2 separate regions of the Homo sapiens genome follow, and region 1 is linked to region 2. The links are contacts of gene promoters, found by promoter capture Hi-C in human tissues and cell types (Jung and others, 2019). All regions are on one chromosome and are shown on one strand. The core of a region is centred on a gene start or on the middle of the fragment in contact, and the rest is flanking DNA. Distances in the headings are between cores, read along the strand shown. Region 1 overlaps XRCC6 (X-ray repair cross complementing 6). Region 2 holds the start of CSDC2 (cold shock domain containing C2).

Evidence for each region. The method cuts DNA at HindIII sites, captures the fragments that hold promoters and counts their contacts. A contact is called where the count stands out against the background at its distance.
Region 1: a fragment that was not itself captured here is called in contact with the fragment with the promoter of CSDC2 in region 2 in 4 of the 25 tissues and cell types used here (IMR-90 fibroblasts, dorsolateral prefrontal cortex, mesenchymal stem cells and 1 more).

Annotation. Positions count from the first base shown.
Region 1 is chr22:41,658,838-41,661,901 of GRCh38, reverse strand. It overlaps XRCC6 (X-ray repair cross complementing 6), which reads right to left. Exons shown (of 13, transcript NM_001469.5): 12 at 458-571. Among named protein-coding and RNA genes, the nearest start is that of SNU13, 28 kb to the left of the region's middle. The HindIII fragment of the contact is 4,770 bases long and covers 1-3,064 here.
Region 2 is chr22:41,559,282-41,562,705 of GRCh38, reverse strand. It overlaps CSDC2 (cold shock domain containing C2), which reads right to left and starts at 1,696. Exons shown (of 4, transcript NM_014460.4): 1 at 1,523-1,696. It overlaps LOC105373044 (a long non-coding RNA gene), which reads left to right and starts at 1,823. Exons shown (of 2, transcript NR_134631.1): 1 at 1,823-1,986. The HindIII fragment of the contact is 6,219 bases long and covers 529-3,424 here.

The sequences.
Region 1 (3,064 bases), core at 516-3,015, 99 kb before region 2:
ATAGTACTCCATTGTGTACGTGTACCACATTTTCTTTACCAGGCATCTGTTGATGGACACAAGTTGCTTCCAGATCTTGGCTATTGTGAATGGTGCTGCAATAAACATGGGAGTGCACATATCTCTTTGATATATTGATCTCCTTTCTTTTGGGTATATACTGACTGGATCATATGGTATGCTGGATCATATGGTAGCTCTAGTTTTCACTTTTTGAGGAAACTCCCAACTATTCTCCATAATAGTGGCTGTACTAATTTACATTCCCACCAACAGTGTATGAGGGTTCCCTTTTCTCCACATCTTTGCCAGCATTTGTTATTGTCTGTTTTTTGGATAAAAGCCATTTTAACTAGACTGTGAATAGATATTTCTGAAAGGATATTGCCCACTGTGATAAGACTATCATAAAAGCAATTTTTAAAAATAGCCCACATGTCCACATTCAGCTTCTCACCGTGTTTTCTCTTGGTAACTTTCCCTTCAGGATTGTAATCTGGTGGGTAAACAAGCTCCTTAAACTCATCCACCAAGGAGCCCAGTCTTTTATTCATTGCTTCAACCTTGGGCACTAGAAAATCAAAACACAGAAGAGTGGCCTGGTGAGTCACGAGCCCCAGCTTGCTGTCCACTTCCAGAACTCTCTGAGAACCAGAAGAGAGAGCACCTAACTGCTAAGGTGGGAGGGGTCTAGGGAAATGTCTTTCCAGCATTTACCAAGTACCTTCCAACACCTGCATTTACTGTAATTACACATACTACCGCCAGGCACTGTTGTAAATGCTTTAAACTTACTCTATTTACTCCTTCTAACAACCTATAGGATAGGTAAATTTGTCCCCAGTTTTTTTTTTTTTAGATTTTTTTTTGAGATGGAGTCTTGCTCTGTTGCCAGGCTGGAGTGCAGTGGCGCGATCTTGGCTCACTGCAACCTCCGACTCCCTGGTTCAAGCGATTCTCCTGCCTCAGCCTCTTGATTTGTCCCCAGTTTTACAGAGGAGAAAAGGAGAGAGATTACATGACTTTCCCAAAGGGCAGTGGTACAGTGGAGATACTAAGCTAGATTCTGGGAATTCAAACAAGTGCTCATGCCTGCGGTGAGCTTACAGCCCAGTGAGAGAGAGGAGGTGGATAAAAACGATGCAGTGGAGTTGGGCAACACCATGCAAGAAGCGACTGTACAGGCACACTGGAACACAGGAGGGGTGGTGAAAGATAAGAAGCAGAAGGCACTGGGAGAGAAATAGCAGGTGACATATAGCTGGAAGGTAGGGTGTTAAGGAGGACAGGGCCAGCAGAGAGGTGAGAAAGATGGGTATGATGAGGTCATGGAAGCTGGGATGCCTGCCAAGGAATTAGGCCTTATCCAAAGAATCCCCTGATAGCTGCATGGAGGGTGAACTGAAAGAGGGTAAGATAAGACAGGTGAAGTGGGGTGTGGGTGGGAGGACCCATAAACATGAGAAGTGACAGAACTGGCAGGACTTACTGATAGAATAGGATTTATTATTTAACTGAAATCACAGAGCTGGAAACCAGAATGTAAGAAGAATAGGAGTGGGATGGGGAGATGACTGGCTGAAACAGGGGGAGCAAGTATGACAGGAAAAGGCAACTTTGGAGGAAAGATCATACTTTTGTTTCCTTTTTTGTTAGCTTACAACTATATTGTTAAATCAAGCTTCTGACATGAGCTGTGTCACATCAAGGGCAAGGGTGATGAGATGGGCAGCTCACATGCCCGTATTTGCCAAGCATGGAGGGGAGCTCTTGCTGGTGTACCTAGATGGCACAATGCTGGAGCCAAACTGTGCTCCTGCTGCATCAGAAGTCCCCTGGTCCACATCATGGGAACCTCTGCAAGAGCACTGGCTCCCAATCTGGGAATCATCTGTAGAGTTTTAAAAGTACAGAGAAGCTGGGTGCAGTGGCTCTTGCCTGTAATCCCAGCACTTTGGGAGGCCGAGGCGGGTGGATCACCTAAGGTCAGGAGTTCAAGATGAGCCTGGCCAATATGGTGAACCCCCATCTCTACCAAAAAATACAAAAATCAGCCAGGCATGGTGGCGGGTGCCTGTAATCCCAGCTACTCGGAAGGCTGAGGCAGGAGAACTGCTTGAGCCTGGGAGCCAAAGGTTTCAGTGAGCCGAGATCCCACCACTGCACTTCAGTCTGGGTGACAAGAGTGAGAACCTGTCTCAAATGAATGAATGAATGTACTGAGGTCCAGCCTATGCTCAGTACTAAAAATAAAAATAAAAGTAGTGAGCATGGTGGCTTATGCCTATAATCCCAGAACTTTGGGAGGCCGAGACAGGTGGATCACTTGAGGTCAGGAATTTGACACCAGCCTGGCCAACATGGTGAAACCCAATCACTAATAAAAACACAAAATAGGCCGTGCGCAGCGCCTCCTGCTTGTAATCCCAGCACTTTGGGAGGCCAAGGCGGGCGGATCACAAGGTCAGGAGATCGAGACCATCCTAACCCAGTGAAACCCCGTCTCTACTAAAAATACAAAAAAATTAACCGGGCTTGGTGGCAGGCACCTGTGTCCTAAACTACCTTGCTAGGCACTAGGCCACCGACTTCTGAATTTGCCTAAGGCCTGAAAGGAGGAGATGGGCTGTTTAGCTCAAAACGTTTCTCTTTCGCCAGACACAGCTAAGCAGGCACCACAGTAACAATGGTCCAATAACTCTTCTGCTTTTAACACTGGGGCTATTTTGTCTAAAATAGATCATTCTGAGACCAGCCGGGCCATCATGGCGAAATCCCGTCTCTACTAAAAATACAAAAATTAGCCGGGCGGGGACCAACTGCTCGGGAGTCTGAGACACGAGAATAGCTTGAACCTAGGAGGCAGACGTAAGCCACTACGCCCGGCTGCGAGTCGCTGGATTCTAAACCCAAATCCACCACTTATTTCCTCTTAAATTATTTATTGATTTTTTGTTTTTGTTTTGTTTTTTGAGACAGCGTCTCGCTCTGTCACCAGGCTGGAGTGCAGTGGTGCAATCTCGGCTCATTGCAGCCTCTGCCTCCTGAGTTCAACCGATCTTCC
Region 2 (3,424 bases), core at 447-2,946:
GCTCTGGGTCCTGGCTGCCCCAGTTGTGACCGTGGACATGACTGGCTCAGCCAGGTCCTGAGCGCCCTCTACCCCCTAGGGGGCTCTACTCCAGACTGGCTGGCAGGTGTCCCCTCCCCACCAGCCATCTGAGAGTGTCCCCAAGTCCCCCTCAGGGAATCCCCCTGCGCATCCGTGAACATTGCCTAGCCATGTCTCTCCAAGCCTGGGAGAGCCATCTGTGGCCAAAACTGTCCTCTGGCCTTTCCCAGGACACGGGCAGGCAGTTCCTGTCTATACCTGTCTTTTTTTTTTTTTTTGAAGGGGGTGAGGATGGGTCAAGATGGGCAGACACAGAAAACAGACATTTTTGGAGAAGACTTCAAGGAAATGGGGGGCGGCAGGGCAAAGCTGGGAGGAGGAAACATTCAGAATTTGGAGGGTCCAGAGGACTCTGGGATGGAGTCAGGTTTGGGAAACCAGTTCCCCATCCCCCAGAAAGCTGGAGACCCCCTTTCCCAGGGAGAGGCCCCTGCCGGATCACAGCCAGGCAGCATGATGCCAGGCTCTCAGAGAGGTTGCCCACCCCCCACTGGGCATACTTCCTCCTCTCCTACCCCAGCCCCAGTGGATGCAGCAGTTCACACTCTGTATTTATTATTGTTCTCGCTCTGTGTCCCCCTCCCCTCTCCCTGGGAAGAGCCTGCAGGCTGGCAGCTTGGCAGGAACCTGCTGTCTCCTTGTGGGTGCCAGCGTCGCCCCTTATCTCCGCCTGGACTCCTTGTGCCAGGGTCAGGCCATTCATGGGCTTGGCACCAGCCAAGGCCACCCTAAGTCCCTGTATCCCAAGATAGAGGCCTGGCAGGCCCTGACTTATCACCCCTGCCCTCCGGGGGCTGTGCCCTGGCAAGGGTGGAGGTCAGAGCAGACCAGCAGGCAGGCAAGAAGCAAGGGCTCGGGGTGGGGTGGTACCTGGGGGAAGAGAATAACCACACGGAGCCACCTCTCTAAGCCAACTAACACAATTATCCCCATCACACTGGGGAAAAAATAGAGTCAGGATAAGACAGCTGCTCCAGGTCCAACTGTCTGCCTTTCCCAGCCGGTCCCTTCCCAGCCCAACATTCCAGGGGAAGGACCAGCAAGGGTCCCTGCTGCACTCTGCTTTCAGCAACTGGAAGCGGCACTGGGGTTTCTCTGGTCAAGGCGGTCCTCTCTCCCGCTGCTTCCCAGACAGGAGGCTGCGGCTTGGCAGGTATCTGCTGCTCTCTGCCTCCTGAGCCAGACGCAGGTCCCAGACACAGACACAGACACAGACACAGACATGCTCCCACGGGAGCCACACGGCCTCACCTCATTTGGGGGTCACGGGGAGAGAATGAGGGAGGGAGAGACAGGTGGTATCCTCTATACCCCCAACACCCTATCTGTAAGCTGAACTGGGCTGATCCAGCCCCCACCTTCACGTTGTACCTCTCTCCTTCGGCCTGGCCAAAGCCACAGTTTCTGGCACAGTGTCCTCAGGCCCCATCTAGCCCCTCACCTCTCCTGGGCAGCTGGGGTCCAGGCACTGCCTCCTGCGGCGTCCGCGCTCTGTCTCTCTCTGGCTCGTGGAGCTGGCAGGCAGGGGATGGGTCTGGAAGATGTGTGTGTGTGTGTGTGTGTGTGTGTGTGTGTGTGTCTGTGTGTGCTCGCGCGGGCGGTACCTCAGCCCCTCACTCACTCACACGCCTTCCAGCTGACGTCAGGGAGAGCAGGAGGGAGGGATGAGAATTTGTACTCCCTGCTTAAAGGGACACCAGGCTCTGTGGCTCATGGCCCAGACATCACCTCCTGAGTCAGGCACTGCCAGGTGAGAGGCTCAGCTGCGTCTCTCGGGGGCCTTAAAGCTTCTTTTTTTGGAAAGTGGCTTTTATGGTCGGGCCACGGTATAATTTGCCCTGCCCAGTGAGGGCAGCTGCTGAGGAATGCAGGGGAGGAAGAACCTGAGACAGCGCCACGTTCCTGGTAATTAGAGAGCAAGTGGGGTGGTGAGTTTGAGTGTGAGTGTGTGAGTGCACACTGGGGGGCCCCTCGGGGTGGGTGGGCATGAGTGGGGGTGAGTCTGGGAGAATGGAGGTCAGAGCCAAGAGGAGCCCCCCAGAGGGGTCGAGACAAGCCAGGTTCCCAGGGACACCCAGACACTCGTCTCCCCTCCGGACGCTCAGTGGTCCTGCCCTCTGCTAGTACAGACACTGACACGGCTCATCTCTGTCTACCCCTTGTAATATTTCCATGGAATTGAATTGACGAGGACCCCAAGGAAGTGATCGGCTTGAAGGTGCACAGGTGAACACCCCACAGCCTGGGAGGCTCTGAGTAGAGAAGTAGAGAGGGCTGATTGAATTCAGGCACCCAGCCTGTTCTACACCACACGCCCTGGCTTCGAAGTGCTCCGCACTGTCAAGCTGTGTGACCTTGGGCCAGCCCCTGAGGGCCTTTGGAGGTTGAGTGTGTGATGTTCCTAAACCCAGGGCCAGCTGGAGGAGGCCTCCACAAAGGTGCTTCTCTTCGTTCTTCCCATTCCTTCTCAGCCTCAGCTTGGAAAGAAGGAAGCCTTTCCCTGGTGTCTCCTGGTACTACTGAGGCAGGCTGGCATTTTCAAAAGGAGTCTTTTTAAAATAAAAAGGAGGTGGGAGTTAAAAGGGAAACCGCAGAGAAAAATACAAGTAACTAATACAAATAGCTAAGACGCCACAAGAGCTTGCTCTGTTTCAGGCAGCAAGCTTTGCCCTCATTGAAACCTCACAACAATTTAATAATTTATTTTTATCATCCCTACTTTACCGGTGAGGAATTAGAGGCTCAGGGAGGAGGAAGGACTTGACTTGCCTATATTCTTCCAACTGGCTAGAGAGGTACTGGAACCCAGGAGCACCCAGTGTCACCACACGCCCCTGCCCTTCCAGAACCTCTCAGGACAATCAGGCTCAGACAGTCTGGGTTTCTGGTTCTGCAGGAGAGACTGTTGAGAAATGCTGCCTGTGGTTACCTGGGGATGTTCTGAATTATTATTATTTTTTTTAGAGAGTATTGCTGTGTCGCCCAGGCTGGAGGGCAGTGGCTTGATCTCAGCTCGCTGCAACCTCCGCTTCCCGGGTTCAAGCGATTCTCCTGCCTCAGCCTCCTGAGTAGCTGGGACTACAGACACACACCACCACACCCAGCTAATTTTTTTGTATTTTTAGTAGAGACAGGGTTTCACTATGTTGGCCAGAATGGTCTCGATCTCCCGACCTCGTGATCCACCCACCTCAGCCTCCCAAAGTGCTGGGATTACAGACGTGAGCCACCGCGCCCAGCCAGGGTTCTGATTTTATTTCACAGCCCCACCTGAGAACTCTACCCAGAGGAGCCTCCCTTCCCCTTTAAATTCTCCTCTCTCTTTCCTCCTTTTTATTTATTT